Linked DNA regions of Homo sapiens: all the other regions are linked to region 1. Evidence: promoter capture Hi-C in 16 types of primary human blood cells and fetal thymus (Javierre and others, 2016). All regions are on one chromosome and are shown on one strand. The core of a region is centred on a gene start or on the middle of the fragment in contact, and the rest is flanking DNA. Distances in the headings are between cores, read along the strand shown. Region 1 holds the start of KCTD7 (potassium channel tetramerization domain containing 7). Region 2 overlaps CRCP (CGRP receptor component). Region 3 holds the start of TPST1 (tyrosylprotein sulfotransferase 1). Region 4 overlaps TYW1 (tRNA-yW synthesizing protein 1 homolog). Region 5 overlaps TMEM248 (transmembrane protein 248). Region 6 has its middle 12 kb from the start of LINC02604.

What was found. Contacts are between HindIII fragments. The CHiCAGO score rates a contact against its expected background, and 5 or more counts as called.
Region 2: a fragment that was not itself captured here is called in contact with the fragment with the promoter of KCTD7 in region 1 in 1 of 17 cell types (neutrophils); the score reaches 5.9 in neutrophils.
Region 3: the fragment with the promoter of TPST1 here is called in contact with the fragment with the promoter of KCTD7 in region 1 in 1 of 17 cell types (naive B cells); the score reaches 5.6 in naive B cells.
Region 4: a contact is called between a fragment that was not itself captured here and the fragment with the promoter of KCTD7 in region 1, in 10 of 17 cell types (fetal thymus, naive B cells, total B cells and 7 more). The highest score is 12.7, in fetal thymus.
Region 5: a fragment that was not itself captured here is called in contact with the fragment with the promoter of KCTD7 in region 1 in 2 of 17 cell types (total B cells and erythroblasts); the score reaches 6.8 in total B cells.
Region 6: a contact is called between a fragment that was not itself captured here and the fragment with the promoter of KCTD7 in region 1, in 1 of 17 cell types (total B cells). The highest score is 5.4, in total B cells.

Annotation. Positions count from the first base shown.
Region 1 is chr7:66,626,071-66,630,934 of GRCh38, forward strand. It overlaps KCTD7 (potassium channel tetramerization domain containing 7), which reads left to right and starts at 2,811. Exons shown (of 4, transcript NM_153033.5): 1 at 2,811-3,138. The coding sequence starts at 2,995. RefSeq lists silencers at 1,392-1,591, 2,602-3,171. The HindIII fragment of the contact is 8,113 bases long and covers 1-4,864 here.
Region 2 is chr7:66,128,584-66,133,447 of GRCh38, forward strand. It overlaps CRCP (CGRP receptor component), which reads left to right. Exons shown (of 6, transcript NM_014478.5): 3 at 2,161-2,259. Among named protein-coding and RNA genes, the nearest start is that of CRCP, 16 kb to the left of the region's middle. The HindIII fragment of the contact is 4,765 bases long and covers 1-4,411 here.
Region 3 is chr7:66,202,493-66,207,356 of GRCh38, forward strand. TPST1 (tyrosylprotein sulfotransferase 1) reads left to right here and starts at 2,842. Exons shown (of 6, transcript NM_003596.4): 1 at 2,842-3,030. RefSeq lists silencers at 2,465-2,734, 2,885-3,244. The HindIII fragment of the contact is 8,515 bases long and covers 1-4,864 here.
Region 4 is chr7:67,005,201-67,010,064 of GRCh38, forward strand. TYW1 (tRNA-yW synthesizing protein 1 homolog) reads left to right here. Exons shown (of 16, transcript NM_018264.4): 4 at 4,383-4,484. Among named protein-coding and RNA genes, the nearest start is that of TYW1, 11 kb to the left of the region's middle. The HindIII fragment of the contact is 175 bases long and covers 1,914-2,088 here.
Region 5 is chr7:66,947,904-66,952,767 of GRCh38, forward strand. It overlaps TMEM248 (transmembrane protein 248), which reads left to right. Exons shown (of 7, transcript NM_017994.5): 4 at 641-791; 5 at 3,049-3,232. Among named protein-coding and RNA genes, the nearest start is that of TMEM248, 29 kb to the left of the region's middle. RefSeq lists enhancers at 2,499-3,698, 4,719-4,864 and a silencer at 4,719-4,864. The HindIII fragment of the contact is 299 bases long and covers 1,845-2,143 here.
Region 6 is chr7:66,889,657-66,894,520 of GRCh38, forward strand. It overlaps the pseudogene RNU6-1254P. Among named protein-coding and RNA genes, the nearest start is that of LINC02604, 12 kb to the right of the region's middle. The HindIII fragment of the contact is 1,962 bases long and covers 1,924-3,885 here.

The DNA.
Region 1 (4,864 bases), core at 1,561-4,060:
AAAAAAATACAAAAAATTAGCCGGGCGTGGAGGCGGGCGCCTGTAGTCCCAGCTACTCGGGAGGCTGAGGCAGGAGAATGGCGTGAACCCAGGAGGTGAAGGTTGCAGTGAGCCGAGATTGCGCCACTGCCCTCCAGCCTGGGCGACAGAGACTCTGTCTCAAAATAAATAAATAAATAAGATAAAAATAAAATAAAATTCCCTGACTGCTTAAACTACTTTTGGTTGCAGTTTCTTGGTACAGCTGAAACATCCCAATTGGCATAAGGATTGAAAGAGGAAATTTTGTTACAGGTATTTTTGAGAAAGACTAGAGTATAATGGAAGACAAGAGAGGGCCTCAAGGGGCCTCCTTTAGGGCAGTGTTACTCAAAGTGTGGTTCATGGACCAGCAGCATCATAATTATCCTGGGATTTGTTAGGAATGCAAATTACCAAGTGCTTCACCCAAGACTGATCAACTCAGATTCTCTGAGGGTGGGACTGGGGCTCTGTTTATTTTTTTATTTTAACTTTTTATGGATACATAATATTTTACATATGTATGGGATATCTGTGATATTTTGTTACGTGCATAGGATGTGTAATGATTAAGTCAGAGCATTAGTGGTATCCATCACTTTGGGAATTTACTCATGTGTTGGAAACAATTCAAGTCCTCTCTTCTAGATTTTTGTTATTGTTGTTGTTGAAACAGAGTCTCTGTCACCTAGGCACTGGAATGCAGTGGTGCAATCACAGCTCACTGCAGCTTCGACCTCCCTGGCTCGCATGATCCTCCTTGCTTTACCCTCCTAGTAGCTGGGACTACAGATGTGAGCCACCACACTCAGCTATATATATATTTTATTTTTTGTAGAGGCAGGGTCTAACTACGTTGTCCAGGCTGGTCTTGACCTCCTGGGCTCAAGGTATCCTCCCGCCTTGGCTTCCCAAAGTGTCTTCCAGCTATTTTGAAATATACAATCCATTGTTGTTAATTATAGTCACTACTCTGCTTTTGAACCATAGAACATAAACCTTTTTATCTAACTGTATGTCCTTCATTAACCTAAATCTCTTCATTTCTCACCCAACCGTTCCCAGCCTCTGGTTTCTTTCTACTCTCTAAATTTATGAGATCGATTTGTTTTAGCTGCCACAGATAAGAACATGCAATATTTATGTCTTTCTGTGCCTGGCTTATTTCACTTAACATAATGACGTCCATCCACGTTGCTGCAGATGACGTGATTTCATTCCTTTTCATCTGTGTTTAAACAAGGTCTCCCTCCAGGGATTTTGATGCAACTGAAGTTGGAGAAAACACAGACCTAGGACACTCCTGCAGCTGGGAGTGCGATGGTCTAACAGAGGAAGTGCTATGCCACCAGCTCATCTTTGCCATCCTGGAGCTGTCTAATCTACGACTCAGTTTTCTTTTCTGTCACTACACTGTGAGAATGAGATGAGGAACTGGGTGTGAAAACGGTTTGAAAAGGAGAAGCATGGTTGCACACGCCTGCGATCCCAGCACTTTGGGAGGCTGACGAGGGAGGACAGCTTGAGGCAAGGAGTTTGAGACCAGCCTGGGCAACATGACAAGACCCCATTTCTTAAAAAAAAAAAAAAAAAAAAATTTTTTTTTCTTTTTTGAGACGGAGTTTCGCTCTTGTTGCCCAGGTTGGAGTATAGTGGCCGTGATCTCGCCTCACTGCAATCTCCATCTCCTGGGTTCAAGCGATTCTCCTGCCTCAGCCTCCCTAGTAGCTGGGATTGCAGGTGTGCCACCATGCCTGGCTAATTTTGTATTTTTAGTAGAGATGAGGTTTCACCATGTTGGCCAGGCTGGTCTCAACTTCCTGACCTCAGGTGATCCACCCGCATCGCTTACCAAAGAGCCAGGATTACAGGCGTGAGCCACTGCGCCCGGCCAAAATTTTAAAAAATCAGCTGAGTGTGGTGGTGCGCGTCTGTGGTCCCAGCTACTCGGGAGGCTGGGGCGGGAGGATTGCTTGAGCCCAGGGGTTGCAATGAGCTATGATTGCGCCACTGCACTTCAGCCTGGGTAACAGAGTGAGACTTTGTCTTTTAAAGAAAGGAGAAAATGGCTTGAACGGGCTAAGAACCTTGACCCCCAGGAGACTCCCTGCGCTGATAGAGCCTCTAGGGCTGGACTCCGCCTCCCAGGGAGCCGGGAGCATCTTGGGGAAGGGCCTGTCTCCATCTGTGTGTCCCGGTGGAAAAACGGTCACGGTGGGGAGTCACTGTCATTATTCATTGAACTCAAGCGCTCCTATTTTGGGTTTTCTCGTTCGGATTTCTGCGCGAGCGAGTGAGGAAGAACTGGACACCCGGGCGGTGCCCTGCGGCTCGGGGCGGGGCCAGCCGCGGTGGCGTGTCCGCAGCCACCTCAGCCCTCCTCCCGCCACATCCTCCAGGAAAGGCTGCTCAGGCCTTCCATTGAGGAGACAAGGACCCGCTGCTCTGGGGCCAGACACACGAGTAAGTCGTGACCCCCTGTGTGAAGGGATAAGGCGTCTACCCTGACGCGGGTGAGAACCCTCTTCACGGCAGACTCCGACGCCCAGTTATGAGAGCGTAGCGGCGCACCACCGCCGGGTCTCTCGGAGAGGGCGCGCCCGCTGGCCAGAGGACCAATCAGTGCACGGCAGGCTCGCAGGCCGCCCCCCCCCCCCCCCCCCAACCCAGGGACCACTCAGGCGCCGGCCGCTGGCGCTGCCTGCTCTTCGACTGGGCGAGCTTCCTGCCAATCAGGGCGGAACCAGCGCGGCGTCGGCCAGTAGCGGGAGGCGGTCGGGTCAGGCCCCAGCTGGGCGCGAGCGGGTCGGCGTTGAGGGAGCCACCGCCCTCCCGCCTGCGCACTGCCTCTCGCCCCCCTCCGGCCAGCCCGCAGCCGGCCGCGTCATGCCAGGCGCTGCTCGGCGGTAGGGAGTGCCCGGGGCCGCCGCCTCCGCCCGCCCGAAGCCGCGCCCACTGCCCAGAGCCAGAGGGATGGTGGTAGTCACGGGGCGGGAGCCAGACAGCCGTCGTCAGGACGGTGCCATGTCCAGCTCTGACGCCGAAGACGACTTTCTGGAGCCGGCCACGCCGACGGCCACGCAGGCGGGGCACGCGCTGCCCCTGCTGCCACAGGAGGTACCCGGGCGGGCGGCGGGCCGCGGGGCGTGGGGAGGGGCGCGGGGGAGAAGCGGGCGCGGGGCATAGCGGTCCTCGGCGGGTGGGCGGGGCCGGGGTTGGGGGCGGGGCCCGCGGACTTGCGCCCCTCCCCCGCCCACCTGCAACTCCCCCGCCCACCTGCACCCCTACCCACCCACCTTCAACCCCTGTCAATTACACCCACTAGGTGTGCTTCCCCACCCCCTACACCCTCCGCCCAGTAGTCACTGGGGTGATTTACTCCCATCGCCATGTCCCACTTTTACCGAAGACAGGAGGGAGGGTGGGCCGTGGGAGGGGGACCCTGGAGCCCCGAGAGCTGATGGTGTGTCTGACCAGGCACCGTAGCTCGAGCCTGTAATCCCAACACATTGGGAGGGAGGATCGCTTGAGGGCAGGAGTTGGAGGCCAGCCTGGGCAACATAGCGAGGCCCCGTCCCTACTACGACTGGAAAAACAAAGGCATTTTGGGTTGGATGAATAAAAAAAAGAAAAGAAAAAGATGTCTTCTAGAGAATCCAACAGGATGCTGTAGTGGTTGCCCACACCTAGTCTCCAGCTACCTAAGGAACAAGGCAAGGAGCTGTCTGCACATAAGGGGCAGGCCAGTTCATAGATGTAGGCACGGTCACCTGGCATCCCATGGCTTTCACTCACAGGCTGCTGTGCTCTGGTGCACAGGGGCTTCCACGGGTCTTACTTAATGTGTGTGATACTATCATGTCAACACCTGAAATGACACTCAAGAGACGGGAGAAGATACCAGGCATGGTGGCTCACATCTGTAATCTCAGCAGTTTGGGATGCTGAGGTGGGAGGATTGCTTGATCCCAGCAGTTAGAGACTAGTCAGGGCAACAGTGAGACCCTGCCTCTACAAAAATGAAAATTAGCCAGGCTTGGTGGTGTGTGCCTGTAGTCCCAGGTGCTCAGGAAGGTGAGTTGGGAGGATTGCTTGAGCCCTGGAGGTTGAGGCTGCAGTGAGCTGTAATTGTGCCACTGTACTCCAGCCTGGGTGTGATAGAGTAAGACCGTACCTACAAACAAACAAAAACAAAAAAAGCAAGAGAAGGGAAACGATGCCAGGTGTGGTGGCTTACACTTGTAATCCCAGCACTTTGGGAGGTCAAGGCAGGAGGATGGTTTGAGGCCAGGAGTCTGGGACCAGCTTGGGCAACACAGACTCCATCTCTACAAATAAAAAATAAAGAGGAGGGAAGGTGAAGCATTACTGGACACCGAAGATGGCTTCTAGGAGGCAGGGACTAAGGTAGTGCCAGATCCAGGAGCATGTGGTATGCGGAGTCCCAGGACAATGGAGGCCCTCAACAATTGAGGCCCTCAACAGGCTGGGCTAGGTGATGCTCTTGGGAAGCAGATAGTGTTGTGCTGGGATTGCAAGCCCCATACACACAATGCCATGGGAAAATGAGCAAAAATCTAGAAGTAATCTCTGCAATTGGAAAAAAGTCATTAGTCACAGTGGTGCTATTTTTTTGTGCACTGTCATTGGGAAAATGATATGGTTTGAGGGAAAGAGCACAAGACCACAGATTGCAGACCAGGGCCCCACCACCAGTTCCCCCCACTGATGACATTGCCCCATGTGAGCTCCAAAACTGTTTCCGATGGCTTTTGTCCTCTCTGCTTCAATCCTCTCATCTCTAATATGGAGCAAGCACTTGGATTGGTATGAAGTATCTTTA
Region 2 (4,864 bases), core at 779-3,278, 500 kb before region 1:
GATTGAGACCATCCTGGCCAACATGGTGAAACCCCATCCCTACTTAAAAAATAAAAAAAGAGAGTGAGTTTAGTTGACTCACCTTTCTGAATAGTAGAAATTAAGAAATGTAGAATTTTTTGGGCTTAGGGTGGGATTGCTGGAGAAAGGAAAAGAAGGAAAAAGGTTGGTAAGAGAGGAGATATTCCAGCATTTTTGCCTCCTATTTGGCACTAGCAAAACCATCTGATAGGCTCACTCCAGGTGTAGAAAGAACCATTTATACCTTGACTGTGAATTTTCCATGTGCTAGAGTCTAAACTCAGAAAGACTCAGGAGGTCTAGAAGGTAGTAGGTTAAGTGCAGTGTCTCACGCCTGTAATCTCAGCACTTGGGAAGGCCAAGGAGAGAAGATTGCTTGAGGCTATGAGTTAGAGCTCAGCCTGGGAAACCTAGCAAGACCCCCAGCTCTTAAAAAAATAAATTAGCGGCCGGGCGCGGTGTCTCACGCCTGTAATCCCAGTACTTTGGGAGGCCGAGGCGGGCGGATCACGAGGTCAGGAGATCAAGAACATCCTGGCTAACACGGTGAAACCCCGTCTCTACTAAAAATACAAAAAATTAGCCGGGCAAGGTGGCGGGCGCCTGTAATCCCAGCTGCTCGGGAGGCTCAGGCAGGAGAATGGCGTGAACCCGGGGGGTGGAGCCTGCAGTGAGCCAAGATTGTGCCACTGCACTCCAGCCTGGGCGACAGCGAGACTCCGTCTCAAAAAAAATAAAAATAAATAAATTAGCTGGACATGGTAGCAAACACCTACTATGGTCCTAGCTACTTGGAAGGCAGAGGGGAGGTTCGCTTGAGCCCAGGAGTTTGAGGTTACAGTGATGACCACTGTACTCCAGTCTGGGAGACAGCTTTTGAGACCGTGTCCCCAAAAAAAAGCTCCCAGAGTGTAAGACAGCAAAAAGAAAGAAAGAAACCTACCCCCTTGTGGTGCTCCCCTCCCCCGCCCCACAAAAAAGAAGGTAGTAGAATAAACAGAGTTGGCCATATTCTTTCCTCTCTAAAGGCTCAGTCTTAAGTGGTTGCAGCTTAGAACAGGAAGGAAATGGTTGAATGGTTTTTGGCCAAGCCTTTGGCTTTTAGGAGCCTCCTTGTCCAGTTTGGACTTTGCTAGGTGTTTGGGTGTTTTATCCATTGGGGAAACATTGCATTCATTGATCTCATGCCACTATTTCTGAAAGGACCAGCAGATGAGAGGGGTCGTATTGTATCTGGTGATGGTGTGTGAGCCTGCATTTTCTTCACTTCTGTGGTAGAATCTCTAAAACAGGAATGAGACTAAGATTCCCCCCTGCCCCCAGCACTAATACATGTATGTTTTATCCTTGTGGGAAAGTTTGCTTCTAAAGATCCATAGCATTTTTTCCTTTCTTTTTTGGGGGGTAAACTCTGTCTTATCACTTGCCTCAAAATTTTTCTTTTCCAGAAAGAAATTATTATATTAGATTTTTATACTAGAGAAGCAGGATTCTTTTTTTTTTTTTTTTTTTTTTTTTTCAGATGGAGTCTCGCTCTGTCACCCAGGCTGGAGTACAGTGGCACCATCCAGGCTCACTGCAACCTCTGCCTCCCGGATTCAAGTGATTCTCCTGCCTCAGCCTCCCGAGTAGCTGGGACTACAGGTGCCGCCACCATGTCCAGCTAATTTTTTGTATTTTTAGTAGAGATGGGGTTTCACCGTGTTAGCCAGGATGGTCTTGATCTCCTGACCTCATGAACCGCCCACCTCACCCTCCCTAAGTGCTGGGATTACAGGCGTGAGCCATCATGCCTGGACCCAGAATTCTTTTTTAACAAAATATTTGCTTTAAGAAAATCTGCTTTCAAATAGTATATTTTTGAGATCAGATTAGTGATGTACATATTGATAGGAAATATTTGAAATATTTTAAGTAAATTAATGAATTTGAATTATTTGGCTTATATAAAAGAACATTTTTTAAAAATGTAATATGCCTCTGGGACTCATATTTGCTCAAATCCAAGAGTTGGAAGCTGGGTGATGGGCGGGTGAAAGGAAGTACTATACTTTCCTGTTTATCCTTCAAAACCACTGACCTTGGATAGATATATTTCTCAAATTTATTCATAAACGTCTTTTTTGTATCTCCTCCTAGGTATTTCAGTTACTAACTGATCTGAAAGAGCAGCGTAAAGAAAGTGGAAAGAATAAACACAGCTCTGGGCAACAGAACTTGAACACTATCACCTATGAAGTAAGGCTGGGCTTCTGCCAGGCCTACCTAAAGTACCATTGAGGGAGGGGGGTTTATTCTCCCAATGACTGGCAGCTGAAATTAAGATTGCTTTTTATATGATCTGAATGTTTTATTCTAACCTGATTTTTGTTTGTTTGTTTGTTTTTTGACACAGAGTCTCGCTCTGTCGCCCAGGCTGGAATGCAGTGGTGTGATCTTCGCTCACTGCAAGCTCCACCTCCCAGGTTCATGCCATTCTTCTGCCTCAGCCTCCCGAGTAGCTGGGACTGCAGGCGCCCTCCACCACGGCCAGCTGATTTTTTGTATTTTTAGTAGAGACAGGGTTTCACCATGTTAGCCAGGATGGTCTCGATCTCCTGACCTCGTGATCCGTCCGCCTAGACTTCCCAAAGTGCTGGGATTACAGGCATGAGCCACCGCGCCCAGCCTACTCTAACCTAATTTTTATTCTGTTTATAGAAGTGAGAGGAGTTTGGTCAAGTTTAGAGTTTAGCCAGCTACAAAGTTAGAAGGAATAGTGTAAAAGATTGCCCTCATTTCTCCTTGAAAGGGGATCACAGCTCACTGCAGCCTCAACCTCCTAGGCTCAGGTGATGCTCCCAGCTTAGCTTCCCAAGTAGCTGGGACTATGGGCATCCACTGCCACGCCTGGCTATTTTTTGTTGTTGTTGTCCAGGCTGGTCTCCAACTCCTGGGCTTAAGGGATCTTCCCACTGCAGCGTCCCAAAGTGCTGGGAACTTACACGCTTAAGGCTATTATTTTTCAAGTTTGAGATTCCTTCCAAAATATGTAATTATAATTCCTCCGAAATTTTATCTATATTCTTCCTCAAAAGCCACAAAATCTGTGTAATCATGAGAAAGCATCACATCATTGCAAATCAAAGAAAAAAAAGAAAAATCTTTTTATTTTGAAATCATTTTTCTTTTTTTTTTTTTGAGACGGATTCTCGCTCCTGTTGCCTAGGCTGGAGTGCCATGGCGCAACCTCGGCTCACCTCTGGCTCCCGGGTTCAAGCGATTCTCCTGCCTCAGCCTCCCGAGTAGCTGGGATTACAGGCATGCACCACCTTGCCCGGCTAATTTTGTATTTTTAGTAGAGACAGGGTTTCTCCATGTTGGTCAGGCGGGTATCAAACTCCCGACCTCATGTGATCCGCCCACCTCTGGCTCCCAAAGTGCTGGGATTACAGGCGTGAGCCACCGTGCCCAGCCATTTTTCTCTTACATAAAAGTTGTAGAGACAGTGCTGGGAGTTCTCATGTACCCTTCCCATAGTTTTCTCTGATGTTAATATCTTACATAACCATGGTACAGTGATCAAAACCAAGAAATTAACATTGGTACATACTATTAAGCTAAACTTAAATTTTATTTGAATGCCCTGTTTTCCCATTGCTGTCTTCTGGGTTCCAGGATTCAGTTCAGGATACCATTTTGTATTTAGTTAACATGTCCCCATAATGTCATTCAATCTATATCCTTACTCTTCCTTTGTCTTCCATGACCTTGACACTTCCAAAGTCTCGTCAAGTATTTTGTAGAATGTCTGTTGATTTGTGATTGCCTGATGTTTTATTATGATTACACAAAACCTATGGCTTTTGAGGAAGAGTACCACAGAGGTAATCTCCCCTTCTCGTGTCCTGATTTCTGGGGGTACATGATATTGATGTTTCTTATGGGTGATGTTGTTAACTTTGGTCATTTCGTTAAGATGGTATCTGCCTGGTTTCTCCACTGTAAATCTACTGTTTCTTCATTTCCACATTATGTTAGAAAGGATTTGGCTGGGCGTGGTGGCTCACACTTGTAATCCCAGCACTTTGGGAGGCCGAGGCAGGCGGATCACAAGGTCAGGAGATCGAGACCACGGTGAAACCCCATCTCTACTAAAAAGAAAAAATACAAAAAATTAGCCGGGCGTAGTGGCGGGCGCCTGTAGTCCCAGCTACTCAGAGAGGCTGAGGCAGGAGAATGGCGTGAACCTGGGAGGTGGAGCTTGCAGTGAGCCGAGATTGCGCCACTGCACTCCAGCCTGGGCGACAGAGCAAGACTCTGTCTCAAATAAATAAATAAATAAATAAATAAGATGAAAGGACTTACCAAGTTTAGCCCATATTCAAGGGGAAGCGGGGCGGGGGGATTAAGCTTCACCTCTTGAAGGGAGGGATATCGAAGAATTTGTGGTTGTATGTTAAAACCACCACAGTAATTAAAAAATATTTTGTGGGAGATGCTTTGCGGCTAGGAAAACAGCCTACCCTTTGCTTAAGCTTTTAACCATCAATTTTAGCATTTATTGGTGGGTCTTTCCTGCAGTAGTTATGACTATGGTACAATTGCCTAAGAGTGATTTAAAAATTTTTCTCATTCTTGGCCGGGTGCGGTGTCTCATGCCTATAATCCCAGCACTTTCGGAGGCCGAGGCGGGTGGATCACGAGGTCAGGAGATCGAGACCATCCTGGCTAACACGGTGAAACCTCGTCTCTACTAAAAATACAAAAAGAAATTAGCCGGGCGTGGTGGCAGGCGCCTGTAGTCCCAGCTACTTGGGAGGCTGAAGCAGGAGAATGGTGTGAACCCAGGAGGCGGAGCTTG
Region 3 (4,864 bases), core at 1,592-4,091, 420 kb before region 1:
AATTCTTTTTCTAGGTCTTATAGGTGGGGGAAGGATTTTCTGGGCAGTGTGGGAGGTTATCTCAGATCTCCATCTCTACTTTGTGGAAAGAGCCTGGCAGGGGCTGTGCACCGGTGGTGGCTTCCGTATTACTGAGGCCATGGTGAGTCCTTTTCCTGAAGAGGTCTGAAATGTAGAAAGCAGAATGTAACTTGGCCCTTGCTTAACATTAAAAGACTGGTTAGAGGATCGCTTGAGGTCAGAAGTTCGAGACTAGCTTGGGCAACATAGTGAGACCCTGTCTCTAAAAACAAAACAAAAGGTGGGCGCGGTGGCTCACACCTGTAATCCCGTCACTTTGGAAGGTGGAGCCGGGCAGATCATCTGAGGTCAGGAGTTTGAGACCAGCCCGGCCAACATGGCAAAACCCTGTCTCTAATAAAACTACAAAAAAATTAGCTGGGCATGGTGGCAGGCGCCTGTAATCCCAGCTACTGGGGAGGCTGAGGCTGAAGAATCACTTGAACTCGGGAGGCGGAGGTTGTAGTGAGCCAAGGTCATACATACCATTGCACTCCAGCCTGGGCAACAAGAGCGAAACTCCATCTCAAAACAAAAACAAACAAACAACAAAATTGCTGTCTACCATCTTATAGTCAGTTTTCTTATCTATCTCTGTGTGTGTGTGTGTATACACCCACACACATATATACACACACACACATATACACACAAACACACACACACACACACATATATATAATTATTATTTTTTTTTTTGGGTGAGAGGCAAGGTCTCAGTCTGTCACCCAGGCTGGAGTGCAGTGGTGCCATCATGGCTCACTGCAGCCTAGAACTCCTGGGCTCACGGGACCCTCCTGCCTGGGTTTCCCAAACTGCTGGGATTACAGGCGTGAGCCACCACACCCAGTCAGCTGATTATCTGTAGAAGGAGATATCATATGTACCTTAGACAGTTGCTGTAAAGATCAAATGAGGTCCACACAAAAACTTCTTTTTTTTTTTTTTTTTGAGACGGAGTCTCACTCTGTTGCCCAGGCTGGAGTGCAGTGGCACAATCTTGGCTCACTGCAACCTCCACCTCCCGGGTTCACGCCATTCTCCTGCCTCTGCCTCCCGAGTAGCTGGGACTACAGGCGCCAGCCACCATGCCTGGCTAAATTTTTGTATTTTTAGTAGAGACGGGGTTTCACCGTGTTAACCAGGATGGTCTCGATCTCCTGACCTTGTGATCCGCCCACCTCGGCCTCTCAAACTGCTGGGATTACAGGCGTGAGCCACTGCACCCGGCCACACACAAAAACTTCTACACAAATGTTCATAGCAGCATCATGTATAATAGCCAAAAAAGTAGAAACAGATGTCCATCAATGGATTAATGGATAAATAAAAGATGATGTCCAGCCAGGCACGGTGGCCCATGCCTGTAATCCCAGCACTTTGGGAGGCCAAGGCAGGCAGATCACTTGAGGCCAGGAGTTCAAGATCAGCCTGGGCAACTTGATGAAACCCCGTCTCTACTAAAAATATAAAAATTAGCCAGGCATGGTGGCACATGCATGTAATTCTAGCTACTTTGGAGGCGGAGGCATGAGAATCACTTGAGCCCAGGAGGTGGAGGTTGCAGTGAGCCAAGATCACATAACTCCACTCCAGCCTGGGAGACAGAGTGAGACTCTTCAAAAAAAAAAAAGGTGATGTCTGTATAATGGACTATTATTCGGCCGTAACAAGGAATGAAGTGCCGATACATGCTACAACATGGATGAACTTTGAAAATATTATACTGTGTGCAAAGGAAGGTAGTTACCTTCCCGGGTTCAAGCAATTCTCCTGCCACAGCCTCCCCAGTAGCTGGGACGACAGGCGTCCGCCACCATGCCCGGCTAATTTTTGTATTTTTAGCAGGGACGGGGTTTCACTATGTTGGCCAGGCTGGTCTCGAACTCCTGACCTCAGGTGATTCACCAGCTTTGGCTTCCCAAAGTGCTGTGATTAGAGGCATGAGCCACCCCACCTGGCCTAGCAGAGAGCAATTTTGAATACAGCTGTTAGATTCTGCACTCATGCCTTCTCTAATCCATGTCACTGGAGTAGAAATAATTGCTTTGACAGAACCTGGTGTAGATGTGTCTGTAGGAAGAAACTGTAAAATGAATGGATCATTTTGTGAAATATCTGCCCTTTCCCCACCTTTCTTTTGCTTCTTTGCCTTTTTCTCCCTAGTTTTCATTTCTTTCTTTTAGGGCGTCAGCCCCCCACCTCTGTGGTTGGGAGGGACTATTGCACGTCTACACTCTCGTGGGGATGAAATAGTGTTTGAGTTCGTTATTTGCATTTGCGCGTTATCTCCCCGAGGAGATGACAGCTTCTCTGCCAGCAGCGGGCAAAGGTGGGCTCTGAAGCAGAGGAGAGGAATTATCAGGAAAAGCTCATTTTCTTCTCCTGTCCTAGGGTTTCACTGATGAAGGCCTCTGGGACACCCACGTTGGGGGTGGGGGCGGTGAGGACCGCCACCTGCCCGCGGCTCCCCTGCAGCCAGGCCACGCGCGCTGTTGCTAGGGCAACCACCCGGCCAGGCCTGCGGCTGCCGGGAAGCCCCCTCGGGAGCGCGCACGGGAAGGGCTGTGGGGGCGCTGGCCGGCTGCGACGTCAGACCCCCGCCCCTCGGCGCCTGCCGGACCCAGCTCCATTCCCAGCCGCGCCTCCTTCGGTGGGCAGCCGGCCGGAACTCACGAATCAGAGCAGCCGACACATCGTCCGCTCAGCCAATCGTAGCAGATGTGTGATCCCGCCACCTCCCCGGACCCTGGCGGTTGTCGCTGAGTTGGCGACCGCGGGAGACGCTGCTGAGGCGGCTTCGGTTGCGGGTCGGAACGGCGCTGCTCTGCGGGGCCGGTCCAGGCTGGCAGCTGCCGGCGCTTGGCGGTGAGGGCGGGCTCCCGAGTGGCCCCCCACCGAAGGCGGTGGGACCAGCGGCTGAGGCCAGGATGCCGTCCAGGCGGCGCGGCGGCTCCTCACTCATCCCAGGTAAGGGGGACGCGGCGCTCGCTGCGGCTCCGCTCCCCTCTCGTCTCCTCACACCCGGCCCTGTGCCCCGTCCTGGCATCCCTTGGCCCCTTGTCGCCTTCTGCTCGGTGCCTCCCGGTTGTCCAACCCCGCCCCCGAGCGCGGAGCCCCGGGTCTGGCCCGTCCGGCCCCTGCTCCCACGCCCCTTCCCCCATCGCCGGCATTTCCCGGGCTCGGCTTCGCCCCGGCCGCCGGGGCCTCTCCCCTCTGCCCTTTCTCTCCCTTCTCGCAGCCCTGGGACCACGTCCTAGCCCCGCAGTCCCCTGGGATGAGACCCTCGTCTCGCCGGGATCGGACATTTGCCCCCACGTCTACCCCGGCTGCGCTTCTTGAGCTCATCGCCCCATCATCCTACCCGTTGTACGTAGTCCTGTCTGCATGGCAGTCGCCCGCCCCGCTCCAGGTGTCCCTGGGTCTTGCCCTTTTGCTCCTAAGCACCTTCCTTTCCCAACTCGCCTCTTCTCCCCTCACTTTGACCACCCACCATCGCAATCTCCTCTTCCTTCTCTTACTCTTAAACCTCCAGACACTTTCCCACTCTCTGCAATGCCGGATTCATCGCTTTTTTTTTTTTTTTTTTTGAGAGATGGAGTCTCTATGTTGCCCAGGCTGGCTTCGAACTCCTGACCTCAAGCTATCCTTCTGCCTCGGCCTCCAAAGTGCTGGGATTACAGGCGTGAGCCACTGCGCCTGGCTCAGATCCATAGTGTAATATCTTCATTCGTCCTTACATGAGCTGCACCCCATAACATGTAAAGTCCCTTGCCCAGAGTCTAGCACACAGTAGGCCTGGCACATGGTGGGTGGTCACGCATGTTAGCCTCTTCCTCCTTCCAGGCGTTTTGTACTTTCCAGATGATGGTAGCAAGAAGTCCAGTGTCCACAGGGATTTGACTCTGCCTGAAGAATGGTATGGGAGATGGCAGGAGAAATTGGTGAACTCCAGTAAAGCGATTAAATGGTCAATTACTGCATTCATTAAGAAGAAACAATTCTGCTATCCGTGCCATGTATTGTTTTATGTTAATTGCCTTTGTAAAGGATTCTTAGGCTGCTAGTCAGCAGGCTTTGCGGTGTAATTACTCCCCATCCCCTCTCCATCCCCATCTGCAGTGTTTGGGTAACTTTCTTTTTAGGAAAGAAAGAGCCCCTACCTCCCAGCTAAAGTGGCATAGTATATAAGCAATGTGGTACGTGTTTATCTATTAGCTGGATAGTCCAGGGAGCTGCAATGAATTTTCATCTTTTAAGATCCAGGAGGAATCAGGATTTGGATTTCCTGGAATCAGCTGCTGTACAGACCAAATATGCTTAAGAATGAAACTTCTGACAAGTCCTCTAAGAGTGAGAGAGGAATTATCCACCCCTCTCCCTCCCCCTCTCCAAACACTCGCTCTTGGAGGAAATAGCGAGTCGATTTTTAAAAAAGAGTAAAATACGTTTGACTTTTTAAAATGATAAAAGCATTGTCATTGGCCCTGTACTATTCTTGCCACCTTTGCTCTGATGGTCTCAAGCCTGGACGAATCAGTCAGCTTTTTCTGCTCCTGGGCTCCCAAGGCAGACTGGCAAAAATCATATAACTAAACTGCTGGGTGCTGTTTCTGCACTTCTGGATCCTGGAGATCCTTTGACTTAACCTCTAGATTCCTCTTATGTCCTAAAATCTAAATGGCTGTTTATGGATCTTTACCATTTTTCTCTGACTCTTTGTCCTACTCTTGCCTTCTCTTCATTGCTTATTTTGCCACTTAACTTCACAGAATAAATTGGTGGGCATCAGCCCTGAACTCTT
Region 4 (4,864 bases), core at 751-3,250, 380 kb after region 1:
TTCTTTCATTTCGACTGGAGAATCTGATGATTTTGTGTCTTGGGGATGGCCATCTTACGTAATATCTCACTGGGGTTCTCTGCATTAAATAAACCTTTTTAAAACATAGATTGGGCTAGGCACAGTGGCTCACGCCTATAATCCCAGCACTTTGGGAGGCCAAGGCAGGTGGATCACTTGAGACCAGGAGTTTGAGACCAACCTGTGCAACATGGCAAAACTCTATCTCTACAAAAAATTCAAAAATTAGCCAGGCATGGTGGCATGTGCCTGTAGTCCTAGCTACTTGGGCGGCTGAGGTGGGACGATTGCTTGAGCCCAGGAGGTCAAGGCTGCAGTAAGCCGTGACTGTGCCACTGCACTTCAGCCTGGGTGACAGAGTGAGACCTTGTCTCAAAAAAATAAAAGACATAGATTACCCAGTCTCAGGTACTCCTTTATAGCAAAATGGACTAAGACAGTGTTTCTGATTCAGTACCACTTGGCCCTCTTCTGACTCCAGTGTACTCTCAACTCAGCAACCTCAGTGACTGTTTGAAAACTTAGGTGAAGTCACGTCATCCCTCTGCTTAAAACCCTGCACTGACCCCTTCATTCAAGAGTCAATGCTTGAGTCCTCACAGTGGCCCAGAGATCCTACACGTGTGGCTCTTTGTTAACTCTCTTACCCCATCTCCTTGGTTTCTTTTTTTTCAGTCTTAGTAACCTCCTCTGGGCCTTTGCAGTTCACTGTTCCTGCCGCCTGGGATAACCTCATGGTTCTCCCAGTTCCTTTGGCTTTGGCTCAAATCTCACTTTATCCTTGTGTTAGTCTGTTTTGCATTGCCATAAAGGAATACCTGCAGCTGGGTAATTGATATGGTTTGGATCTGTGTCCCCACCAAATCTTACGTCGGATCGTAGTCCCATTGTTGGAGGTGGGGCTTGGCGGGAGGTGCTTAGATCTTGAGGGCAGATTTTGCATGAGAGGTTTAGCACCATCTCCCTTGTACTGTCCTCGTGACAGTGAGTTCTCATGAGATCTGGCTGTTTAAAAGTGTGTGGCACTGCCTCCTTCTCTCTCTTGTTCCTGCCATGTCATGTGCCTGCCCCTCCTTTGCCTTCCACCAATATTGGAAGCTCCCTGAGGCCTCCTCAGAAGCAGATGCCGTTACACTTCCTGTACAGTCTGCAGAACTGTGAGCCAATTAAATGTCTTTTTTTTATAAATTGCCCAATCTCAGGTATTTCTTTTTTCCTTTTTTTTTTTTTTTTTTTGAGATGGAGTCTCACCCAGTTGCCCAGGCTGGAGTGCAGTGGCGTGATCTCGGCTCACTGCGGCCTCTGCCTCCCAGGCTCAAGCGATCCTTCCACCTCAGCCTCCCAAGTAGCTGGACCACAGGTATATGCCACCATGCCCAGCTAATTTTTTGTATTTTTGGTAGAGATGGGGTTTCACCATGTTGCCCAGGCTGGTCTCGATCTCCTGACCTCAAGTGATCCGCCCGCCTTGACCTCCCAAAGAGCTGGGATTACAGGCATGAGCCACCATGCCCGGCCAGGTATTTTTTTTATAGCAATGCAAGAATGGACTAATACTGTAATTTATAAAGAAAAGAGGTTTATTTGGTTCATGGTTCTGCAGGCTCTACAAGCATGGTGCCAACATCCACTTGGCTTCTGGTGAAGCTTCAGGAAGCTTCCACCCATGGAGGAATAGGTACCACATGGTGAGAGAGGGAGCAAAACAGTAGGGAGAGATGTGAGGCTTTTTTTTTTTTTTTTTTTTTTTTTTTTTAACAGCCATCTATGAACTAATAGGGCAAGAACTCAACACCAAGGGGAGGGCGGCAAGCTGAGGTAGGAAAGTAGAGTCTGGAGACAGAGCCTAAGGCCAACCTGTGGCTGACGTCCTTGAATTAAACTGAAAGGAAAGCTTTAGCCTCTGATGGGCTGTGGGCTAATTCTTTATTTGCATATGGTATAACTCCACTGCAGCCTCTGATTGGCCATGAGCCAATTCTTCATTTATATAGGGTGTAACCAATTGGAAGCCTCCCAAGGATACCTGGGGGTGTTACCAAATTCTTCTAGCTTAATAAAAACCTAAGCTTAATAAAAACAACTGGAGCTCTTGAGCCACTTGCTCAAGCCTGCTTCCTGACTGTAGAGTGTACCTTCCCATCAATAAATCTGTGTTTTTGTTGCTTCGCTTGTTGCATTTTTTTCAGTTCTTTGTTGAACATGTGAACAACCTGGACAACTCCTAGGCAAGACCCTCCACTGGTAACAAAGCCACTCCTGAGGGACCCACCCCCATGACCCAAACACCTCCTATTCGAGCTCACTTCCAACATTGGAGATTACGTGTTAATGATATTTGGAGGGGACGAATATCCAAACCGTATCAGTCCTTGAGGCCTGCTGCAGTACTGTTTTCTGACCCCCAAATACCTTTTCTCTTTTTTTTTGAGATGGAGTCTCGCTCTGTCGTCCAGGCTGGAGTGCAGTGTGGCACGATCTCGGCTCACTGCAACCTCTGCCTCCTGGATTCAAGCAGTTCTCCTCCCTCAGCCTCCCAAGTAGCTGGGATTACAGGTGCCCACCACCACTCCTGGCTAATTTTTGTATTTTTAGTAGAGATGGGGTTTCACCATGTTGGTCTGGCTGGTCTTGAACTCCTGACCTCAGGTGATCTGTCCGCCTCGGCTTCCCAAAGTGTTGGGATTACAGGTGTGAGCCACCACGCCTGGCCAACCTGTCCTTTTTCTATACCAGTTCTCATGCTTACTATTGGGAGTTATCATTAGCCCACAAGACTGCCCCCACTTCAGACACCAGTCACAAGTCCCGGCTTTAAATTTAGGGTTCTGCACCACTGCCTCCTCAGGTTCTATAGGATGACTCACAGACCTCAGGAAGTTGCTTGACTTATGTTTAGTGGTTTATCATAAAGGATGCAACTCAGGAACGGCCGAATGGAAGAGCTGCACAGGGCCAGCTATGGAGGGGTGGGGGTTGAGCAGGGCTTCCAGGCCGTTTCTGGCCGTGTCTTCTCCCCAGCACATTGGTATGTTCACCAAGTCAACAGTCTCCATTGTTCAGGGGTTTTTCTTGGAGGCTCCATTACATAGGCACGATTGATTAAATCATTGGCCTTGGTGATTAAACTCAATCTCCAGCCCCTCTTCTCTCCCTAGTGTTCCCTGTTGGGGCTGGGGTAGGAGGTGCTGAGTTTAACTTCTCATCAGTTTCTCTGGCAACGAGCCTCCATCCTGAAGCTATCTGAGGCCTCACTCCAGTAAGCCATCTCATTAGCGTACAAAAGATATTCATTCCATCTTTTGTTGTAGTGGCTGCTCCCAGCCTAGAGCTTCTCTGGGGTTCTGTTAGCCCTGTGAACTCTTCCCTAGGACTTTTTCCTGTCTGTCAACCGGCTTCTTTTCATGTTTCCCATTCTTTTCACTCTTCACTCTTTCTTTTATTTTATTTATTTATTTATTTTGGAGATGGAGTTTTGTTGCCCAGACTGGAGTGCAATGGTGCAATCTTGGCTCACTGCAACCTCCGCCTCCTGGATTCAAGTGATTCTCCTGCCTCAGCCTCCCGGGTAGCTGGGATTATAGGTGTGTGCCACCACGCTTGGCTAATTTTGTATTTTTAGTAGAGACGGGGTTTTACCATGTTGGTCAGGCTGGTCTCGCATTCCTGACCTCAAGTGATCCAACTGCATCGGCCTCCCAAGGTACTGGGATTACAGGTGTGAGCCACTGTGCCCAGCCCATTCTTCACTATTTCTTTTTGCACTTCTCTGTGTTTATTGTTTTTTAATATGTTATTTTCTTTATGAGACAGGATCTGAGTCTGTGGCCCAGGCTAGAGTGCATTGGTGTGATCGTAGCTCACTGTATCCTCTAACCCCTGGGCTCGGGGGATCTTCCCGTCTCAGCCTCTTGAGTAGCTGGGACTATAGGTGTGTGCCATCACACCTGGCTAATTTTTAAATTTTTTTATAACGATGAGGTCTCACTTTGTTGTCCAGGCTTGGCCTCAAGTGATCCTCCCACCTCAGCCTCCCAAAGTGCTGGGATTATAGGCATAAGCCATCTTGCCTGGCTGATATGTTTACTCTAGTAGGGCAAGGCAGATTGATCATCCAAAGCCAAATTAGATTCAGTCCTATGTAAACCCTGATCGGGTGAGAACAACACAAATGAATGATCTCTGTAATGGTGCCCAAGAAAATGGTAAGAGTGAGGATAGAATTTGTGTTCATGAAGATACATATCAGTCACTGAAAATATTTTTCATGAGGAATGCCACATTCTTGTGCCAACAGGGGTAATGAGGGTTATATTTGGCTCATTGAAGACTTTATTTGATGTTTTTTTTGGTCCTATTAGGGATTCGCAACAGTTCTTGCTGAAGCAGTTACATCCCTGGATCTGCCTGTGGCCATTATTAATCTAAAAGAATATGATCCAGATGATCATCTGATAGAAGAGGTTGGTAATTGTCTTTTTCTTCAGTCAAAACTCTCAAATTTAACTGATCTGCAATCTTCACAGTAAATTTAATTAGATAACTAGAATCTTCAGAATAAATTTAATTTTCGTGCTAAGGGATTTCAGTTAGTTGAATTCCAGTGTGAATCAGAGAATTGAATGTGGGGTAAGGTTCACTGATTCTCACGTGGTGTGGGGCTTGTTCTTCAGGCATGTTAAATTCTCCTGGGGCAGGGCTAGAGGTGAGAAAGCTTGGGTGGTTGGAAGTTCACTCCTTCCCACAATTTTCTTTTTTCTTTTCTTTTTTTTTTTTTTTGAGATGGAGTCTCACTATGTCACCCAGGCTGGAGTGCAGTGGTGCAATCTCAGTTCAGTGCAAT
Region 5 (4,864 bases), core at 744-3,243, 320 kb after region 1:
TACACCTGGCTGATTTTTAAAACTTTTTTGTAGAGACAGAATCTTGCTGTCATGTTCAGGCTGGTCGTGAATTCCCGGCCTCAAGCAATCCTCCTGCCTCAGCCTTCTAAAGTCAAAGTGCTGGGACTACAGATGTGAACCACTGTGCCTGGCAATACGTTGGTTTTAGTTTAAGCTTCATCACTTGCCTTTCTTAACTCTGAAACCCTCTGACCTCTGTTTGTTCATATGTAAAAGGGGAACAGCTGCACTTCTTCAGTCATGTTCATGGGAGAGTAGTAAATTTTAAGTGAAATAATACATATAAAAGATGTTTGAAAATGGCTAGACAGCTGTGCAGAAATGCTGGGGATAATTCACCCAGCCCGAGCTTTTCATCTCTGATCTGCCCGAGGTCTGGTTTGGCATCTCCAGGCCATGTACTGGAAAGTGGCCACTTCCTTCGCTGCTTCGTGGCTCTGAGTTGAGTAGGACTCATGGTCAGGGTCAGGACTGCTCTTCTTCCTCAGATCCCACAAAGGCAGGTGCCTGGGCTGATAGATGATTCCTGTGTGGGTTTGATTTCAGGATTTATTTGTATCCCAGAGAATGACAAGTACGTGGTTCTTGACTTTATAAAAAAATGATTTCTCTTTCATAGGCAGGGAAGCCCACGAGGAGATAAACATCACCTTCACCCTGCCTACAGCGTGGAGCTCAGATGACTGCGCCCTCCACGGTCACTGTGAGCAGGTGGTATTCACAGCCTGCATGACCCTCACGGCCAGCCCTGGGGTGTTCCCCGTCACTGTGTAAGTGTACCCGGCACCTGATGAACGTGCGTAACAAGCTCCACTTGCCGTGAGTACGGCTGGGCTGCTTCAGCTGTAAATTCTCAGGATGGCTCACTTCACATTTCTTTATAGAATTATCTCTACTCGGACCTATCTAAAGGATTATTTAATTTGTCTAAAGGATTATTTAATTTGGAATTCTAAAGATAGAACTTCTGCATATAAAATCAGAAAGTTAGTGCCCCCTCGAGGCAGTAAAAGCACCTGGCTGTTGTTGGACATTCATAGGCTGTCTTTCCCGCAGGAGTAGAAGCAGCAAGTTACAGAAAAGAGGCTCACTGTGGCCGGGTGCCGTGGCTCAGGCCTGCGATCCCAGCACTGTGGAAGGCTGAGGTGGGAGGATCACTTGAGCCCCGGAGTTCAAGACCAGCCTGGACAACATATAGGGAGACCCTGTCTCTATTTAAAAAAAAAAAAAAAGAAAGAAAAAGAAAAAAGAAAAGAGGCTCTCTAAAGATAAAGGTTTTCAGCCAGGTGCGGTGTCTCATGCCTATAATCCCAGCACTTTGGGAGGCCAAGGTGGGCAGATCACCTGAGGTCAGGAGTTCAAGACCAGCCTGGCCAACATAGTGAAACCCCATCTCTACTAAAAATATAAAAATTAGCCAGGCATGATGGCACATGTCTGTAATCCCAGCTACTCAGAGGCTAAAGCAGGGAGGCAGAGGTTGCAGTGAGCTGAGATCGCGCCACTGCACTTCAGCCTGGGCAACAGCAAGACTCTGTCTCAAAAAAATAAATAAATCAAATAAAACAAAGATAAAGGTTTTGTTCATCTCCATTATCCAGAAAGATATTTTAAAATCGTTGATTTTAGTTTATCTTGATTTTAGTTTTAAATCAAGTATAAATCAAAACTTATTTTCTGTTAATTAACTAATTTTAAAATCTAACATTTTAAATCATTTCCCATTAAACAGTTACTTTAATTTTACCTGCGAATTTGAAAATTAGTTTTAAAATCAAATATAAATTGAACTTTATTTTCCATTAAACAATTAAGGTTTTTGAAGCTTTTCCTTCAGTGTTTTTGAGCAGCATTCAGTGTTACTGCTTTGCATTTTAGGTTTTTTTTGTTGTTGGTTTTTTTTGGTCTCTCCTGTCTCTATAAAGGAGATAATTATCTATAAATAAATAGGTGAAATACATAAGATATAGCCTATTTAAAATAATTCTATGGTGAATCCTTTTTAAATAAGAATTATCTCAGGATTTGTCTATTTTAGACATTTGGAGGTTTGTAGGACAAGATCAGATTAAGTTAAACATTACTTTGTGTTGCAGTGACTGATATAGAATTTTGTAGGTAAAGCTTCCAGTTGTAACTAAGTGATATGCTTTGGGCTGGGCGCAATGGCTCACACCTGTAATCCCAGCTACTTGAGAGGCTGAGGCAGGAGAATCAGTTCAACATGGGAGGTGGAGGTTTCAGTGAGCCGAGGTCACACCGGCCTGGGCAACAGAGCAAGACTCCGTCTCAAAAAAAAAAAAAAAGATGATATAGTTTGGCTGTCTCCCCACCCAAATCTCGTTTTGAATTGTAGTTCCCATAATCCTCATGTGTCATGGGAGGGACCCAGTGGGAGGTAATTGAATCCTGGAGATTGTTACCCCCATGCTGCTGTTCTCATAGTAAGAGAGTTCCCATGAGATATGATGGTTTTATAAGGGGTTTTCCACCTTTTATTTGGCACTTCTCTTTGCTGCCGCCATGTGAAGAAGGATGTGTTTGCTTCCACTTCCGCCATGCTTGTAAGTTTCCTGAGGCTTCCCTGACCATGCTGAACTGTGAGTCAATTAAGCCTGTTTCCTTTATAAATAACCCAGTCCCGGGTATGTCTTTATCAGCAGCATGAGAAAGGACTAATATACTAAGAGTTTAGCTCATTTGAGAAGATAGGCTTAAAAGGAGCTTATGTGCTTTGCATCACATGTGAGAGGACTGTAGGCTGAATTCTGAAGGCAAAAATCCAACACCCAAACTCCTAAATGTCAGGCACCTATTTATTTTTCTGTTATATTTTTATTTTTTAAAAAAGACCCTCAAACTAAAATATAATGGTATTTATCTCAAAGAAGCATGAACGTGTAAGTTACATTTTTCCTTTCCATGTGTGTTGCCGTGTTCAGTGTTTTACCAGCTGCTGTGGGGGTGACACAAGTGAATGACTCAGGCCACTGAGCACGTGTCTTTCCTCCTCCTCTTCTCCTGCAGACAGCCACCGCACTGTGTTCCTGACACGTACAGCAACGCCACGCTCTGGTACAAGATCTTCACAACTGCCAGAGATGCCAACACAAAATACGCCCAAGATTACAATCCTTTCTGGTGTTATAAGGGGGCCATTGGAAAAGTCTATCATGCTTTAAATCCCAAGCTTACAGTGATTGTTCCAGATGTAAGTGAGAAAAATTGTGTGTGTGTGTGTGCGTGCATGCATATGCACATGTGTGCGCATGTGCTGCAACCGTTGGTGTAGGCCCTGCTGACTTCCCTGGGTAAGCGTATCCTCTGCCACTTTAGATTTCCAGGTGAGTTAGGACACTAGGCGGAGTGGTGGATGCTTGGAAAAACATGTTACCCATTGGTTAAGAAAAATCTGGTTTTTCTCTTCATTTTCTCTGTTGTTCAGCAGCAGTTATTTCTTGAGCAACTGCCTAATCCCTGGGGGGGGTTACAAGGGATCCTTCTATTAATATTATCTTAGAGGGATGTTCACAGACGTTCATAGAAGACTATCTAGTTAGTGTCCGTGTGAACAAGAAATAGTGCTGCTTAGAGTTCTGAAAGATAGAAGGGAGTAGTAGGAGGAGATGAATCTTCGGCTAGAGAGTGAGGCCTGAATAGGATTTAACTTAACCAAGAGGCAAGGGGAACAAAATACTTACCTATCTCATCTAGTAGCTGTGTGCTGCTAGCTCAGCTTCCTACTTAGACTTGAGCCCACTTACTTTTTTAGAGACAGGATCTTGCTCTGTCGCCCAGATTGGGGTCTAGTGGCGCAATCATAGCTCACTGCAGCTTCAGCCTCCTGGGCTCAAGCTTCCCAAGTGGCTGGGACTACAGGTGCATGTCACCATGCCGGGATAATTTTTAAACTTTTTGTAGAGACGGGGGTCTTGCTGTGTTGCCCAGGCTGGTCTTGAACCCCTGGTCTCAAGCGATCCTCCTGCCTTGGCCTCCAAAGTTTCTGGGATGACAGGTATGAGCCGCTGCACCTGGCCCAAGCCCACTTTTTAACACTGCTTTGATATTTTATAAATATGTTCCTTTCTGGCAGTGTGTGTTAGCTGGATCTCTCTTCTTTTGGCCTGGCCCTTTGCCCTTTTCTTTTTTTCTTTATTTTAATTTTTTTTTATTTTTATTTTTTGAGATTGAGTCTTTCTCTGTCACCCAGGCTGGAGTGCAGTGGCACAATCTCGGTTCGTTGCAACCTCTGCCTCCTGGATTGAAGTGATTCTAAGTAGCTGGGATTACAGGCACCTGCCAACACGCCCAGCTAATTTTTGTATTTTTGGTAGAGATAAGGTTTCGACATGTTGGCCAGGTTGGTGTTGAACTGCTGACTTCAGGTGATCCTCCCACCTCAGCCTCCCAAAGTGCTGGGATTATAGGCATGAGCCACTATGCCCGACCTTTGCCCTTTTCTGGGGCTCATTTGTAGGCCAGGGTCCTGCAGGAGCCAGCTATGGAGGTCAGGCTGGATGGTGGGCTGAGGCCCTTAGTGCCTGGCCAAGGGCAGTCCCTGCCTGTGTTTGGGGCGTGGGTGTTGGTAAAGCAGTGTGTTGAGAAGACTGAGCTGCCCCGCTATGTTATAAATGACCTGGGGGAGCCCAGAGCTGTCCTGAGGCCTGGAGATACTAGAGGGTAAAGGAATGGAACCATGTCTGGGGTCCCTTTAGTAACTTGCAGGGTCTGGGAATTGACTGCATGTGGGAGGTCAAAGGGTAGTGAATCACGGATGATCTCAGCATTTTCATCCAAGGACTTAGGGAAATAGAGAAAAGCAGGAGGAAGGGCGTGACCCCTG
Region 6 (4,864 bases), core at 1,655-4,154, 260 kb after region 1:
CCATTTATTAATTGACAAAGGAGGCATATTTCTCCTTTAGTAACCTGATGATTTAGGTCCTTTCTTCAGGGACTCCCTTTCCACATAAAGGTTCTTGGAAAACTAAGCAGAGTATGAGGAAAAGGCTGTGAACAAGCTTGCTGGTCCCTCCCTGTCCTAAAAAAGAGCATACCTCTTCTGTAACCAGAAAACCCTTTTCACTAGTCAAGGCTGTGCAGACTGAGATGAAAGTGTGTGTGTGTGTGTGTGTGTGTGTGTGTGTGTGTGTGTGTGGACAGGGTCTCACTCTGTCACCCAAGCTGGAGTGCAGTGGTGAGATCAGAGCTCACTGCAGCTTCCACTTTTGCAGCTTCCACTTTCCTCCTCCCACTTCAGCCTGCAGAGTAGCTGGGACTATAGGACTGTGCTACCACACCCAGCTCATTTTCTAATTTTTCGTAGAGATGAGGTTTCACTGTGTTGCCCAGGCTGGTCTTGAACTTCTGGCCTTACGGGATCCTCCTGCCTTAGTCTCCCAATAGGCTGGGATTATAGGTATGAGCCACTTCACCTGACCTGTGATGAGTTTTCAACAATGTGATTCCTCTTTTACAGAACCACCTAAGCTAAAGATTCTTTTGAGAACAAGGGCTAGCCTGTGGTTTCATGGCCTTTCTTCCATTTGGGGTTCTTGCCAAGTGGAATTTAAATGACCTCTTATCAAGATGGATAAACCCAAGTTTCCCAGTGCTGGAATACAGAAAATGGATGGACAAGTAAGTCCCACTCAGCACCCATAGCCCAGACATGGGGACCTCAACACACCTGGGCCCCAGACATCACCTTTCATTGTGGGTAGCTCAGAGATGACACTTTTGGTTGTTAAGTGCCCACTGGCAATAGTTTCTATAACAGCAAGTGAAGGAATAAATAGTCACCAAAACATTTTCTGTTCCCAATTCCAACATTAATTGGGTGAGATAATTATTTTATGAAGAATTGTCATATGGCACAGTCCTGGCCATATCTTCAAGTGAACAGAAAAATTCTATTAAAAAGTCAACCTTCTATCTCACTCTGTTGCCCAGACTGGAGTGCAGTGGTGCAATTATGGCTCACTGCAGCCACAACCTCCTGGGCTCAAGCAATCCTCCTGTCTCAGCTTCACAAGTAGCTGGGACTACAGGTGCTTGTCACTACACCTCACTAATTTTCCCATTTTTCCTATATGTGGATTGCACAGGACTGACTCAAAAACTTGAGTATGTGTGGATTTTGGTATACATAGAAATGGAGGAGCTGGAACCAATCCCCCCATATACCAAGGGACAAATTGTGTCTGTTTCTACAGTTATACTGTAGGATACATTATGTTCCATGACAATGGTAATTTTTAATGACAGTTTTTAATTGAGTGGAATTACCATAAAAATAATAAAAGTAGCAGCTAATATTTACTGAGCTGTTACTAGGTGCCTATAAATATGATAGATTTTTGAAATTCCCCATAACTCTTCCTTATTCCACTTAACCACTCTATCTTAAATTACTCATGCTTGCTTCGGTAGCACATATACTAAAGTTGGAACAATAGAGAGATTGGCATGGCCTCTTTGCAAGAATGTCATGCAAATTTGTGAAGCATTCCATATATTTTTTAAAAAGAGAAAAAAATTACTCCCAGATTTTCACTGGGTACATATGACCTTTTGTTTGAATTATATCCAAAGATGATATTTCCAGAAGTGAGATTACTGTGAGTCACAGGGCATGAGCATTCTTATTACACCTGATGTAAATTGTCGAGCTTTCAGGCATGGTGGCTGTCTGCCTTTAATTCCAGCACTTTGGGACGCTGAGGTGGGAGGGAGGATTGCTTGAAGCCAGGAGTTAGAGGAGGCAGTATAGGGAATCACTGTCTGTATTATTTTAAAAAGACTGCCAAGCTTTACTCTCAAAGGCTTATATACAATTTAAACACCACTAATAGTGTAAAAAAATTGCCCATTTCAGGCCAGGCGCAGTGGCTCATGCCTGTAATCCCAGCACTTTGGGAGGCTGAGGTGGGTGGATCACGAGATAGAAATCGAGACCACCCTGGCCAACATGGTGAAACCCCGTCTCTACTAAAAATACAAAAATTGGCTGGGCGTGCTGGTCTGTGCCTGTAATTTTAGCTACTCGAGAGGCTGAGGCAGGAGCATCGCTTGAACACAGGAGTTGGAAGTTGCAGTGAGCACGCCACTGCACTCCAGCCTGGCAATAGAGTGAGACTCTGTCTCAAAAAAAAAAAAAAAAAAAAAAAAAGAAAATGCACATTTCATTGCACCTTTGCCGGCACAGGGTATTATAATTTAACAAGTTATTTTTTGTTTGACTATTTTTAATAAATAAAATACCTAGTATTACTTTATTTTTATTTGTCATATTTTAATATCTTTCCTTGTGTTAGCTTATCAGCTTTATTTCTTCATTGTCCTTTTTTAATTTTTGAGACCAAGTCTCACCCTGTCGCCGAGGCTTGAGTGTAGTGATACAGTCTTGACTCACTGCAGCCTTGACCTCCTGGGCTCAGGTGATCCTTCCACCTCGGTTGCTGAGACTATAGGCACATGGAACCATACCTGACTAATTTTTTTTATTTTTAGTAGAGACGAGGTCTTGCTATGTTTCCCAGGGTATTCTGGAATTCCTGGCCTCAAGCGATCCTCCCACCACCCCCTCCCAAAGTACTGGTATTATAAGTGTGAGCCACCATGCCTGGGCTGTCTGTGTCTTTTCCCTTTATTTATAGAGTTAATGAGTCTTTTACTAATTTGATTATCTATTTTTTATGAAATTATAAAAATAGTAAATACTTTTAAATAAAGAAGTGAAAATTTTCCTTCACTCTTTAGACCCACAATTTTATCTCAGGAAATAATTGCTATTGCAAAAATGGGCCATATTCTTCAAGATACATATAGGCTAATTGGACATCACTTCACATTTTCATATTTCGTGGACATCTATGCCAATACCTATTGATCTATCTTACTCCTTTTCATGGTTGCATAATATTTTATTATATAGATGTATCACAGTTTACCAGTCAGCCACTGTAGGCGTTTAGGCTCCTTCTAATGTTTGCTTTGAACTCTTTATATAATTAAAAATTAACACCCTCAGCCAGATGTGGCAGCTCACACCTGTAATCCCAGCACTTTGGAAGACTGAGGTGGGAGAACTGCTTGAGGGTAGGAGATCATCACCAGCCTGGTCAACAGAGTGACACTTTGTTTCTATTAAAATTTTTTAAAAAATGAGCTGGACATTGCAGTGCACACCTGTAGTCCCAGCTACATGGGACGCTGAGACTGGAGGATCACTTGAGCCTAGGAGGTTGAGGCTGCAGTAAGCTATGATCACACCACTGCACTCCAGCTTTGGTAACAGAGTAAGACTGTGTTTCTTAAATAAAATAAAAATCAGGTGGGAAGATTGCTCTAGCCCCGGAGGTAGAGGCTTCCATGAGCTGTGATTATATCACTGCAGTCCTGCCCACGCAATAGAGCAAGACCCTTTCTCAAAGAATAAAATAAAATAAAAATTAACCCTTTATCATATTTCCCACTAACACCTTCCATCCTACGTTTTTCCTAGAAGCCCTTGAATTTTGTTTGCTTTTCACATACCATTTAAAACTTTTAAGTACTGATGTCTGTTTCATCCCTCCTTTTTTTTTTAAAGGATGTCTTTTTGTCACTTCCAGCTGGATCTACCATGAAAGACGTCAGAGTCCAGGAAGAGAGACTGACTGGGCAACATGTTATTCAGGTACAAAAAGACTTGGACTGTAACTAAAAAATGATCAAATAATAGTGCATACATCAAGAACAATGGAAAGCACTTCTGGAGGGTGAGAGAAGCTTCCAGTTAAGTTGACATTGAAGCTGGGTCCTGAAAGATGAGGAAGAGTTGTATGAGAGTGAGGAGGGAAGGAGGAGGTGGAGGGATGGGGAATGGGCTGGGATGGGATGGAGTGGGCTGTCCAGGTGGGGAAACCAGCACTGTAAAGACCTGGACAATGAAGATGGCACATTTTGTTCAGGGAATGGTGAAGTAAGAGTGGCAGGAGTGCTTTGGAGAGACAGTAATTTGCTTGTATGGAATTTTGCCCAAGAGACCTCATTACAGTTTCTAATCTTTTGATGTTATCATCCATCACTGTCCTTGTCAAATAGTTTGGAATAGGTATGATGATCACAATAACATCAAGCATAATATTTCATTAATTCTCAGAATTAGAGAAGATGATGTGGTGATGGAAGAAGAGGTCAGAGAGGGAGATTTGAAGATGTTGCAGTTCTGGCCTTCAAGATGGAGTCAGGGGCTATCTTCAAGGTGAGTCAAGGAATGGGGTGGCTTCTAGAAGCTGGAAAAGACAAGGGAGCACATTCTCTCTAGAGCCTCCAGAAGGAATGCAGCCCCTCTTACACCTTGACTTTAGCCTTAATAGGCCTAGTTTGGGCCTCTGGTTCCCAGAACTATAATATGGCAGATTTTTGGTGTTTTAAGGCACTAAATATAGGGTAGTTTGTTGCAGCAGCAAGAAGAAACGAACATGAGCCAGGGGCAGTTGCTCACACCTGTAATCCCAGCACTTCAGGTAGCTGAGATGGGGAGCATCGCTTGAGCCCAGGAATTTAAGACAAGCCTGGGCAACATAGTGAGACTTCTTATTGAAAAAAATTTTTGTTAAATTAGGCAGATGTTGTGGTATGCACTTGTAGTCTCAGCTCCTAGGGAGGCTGAGGTGGGAGGATTGTTTAAGTCTGGGAGGTTGAGGTTGTTGTGAGCTGTGATTGAGCCACTATACTCCAGCCTGGGCAATAAAGCAAGACCC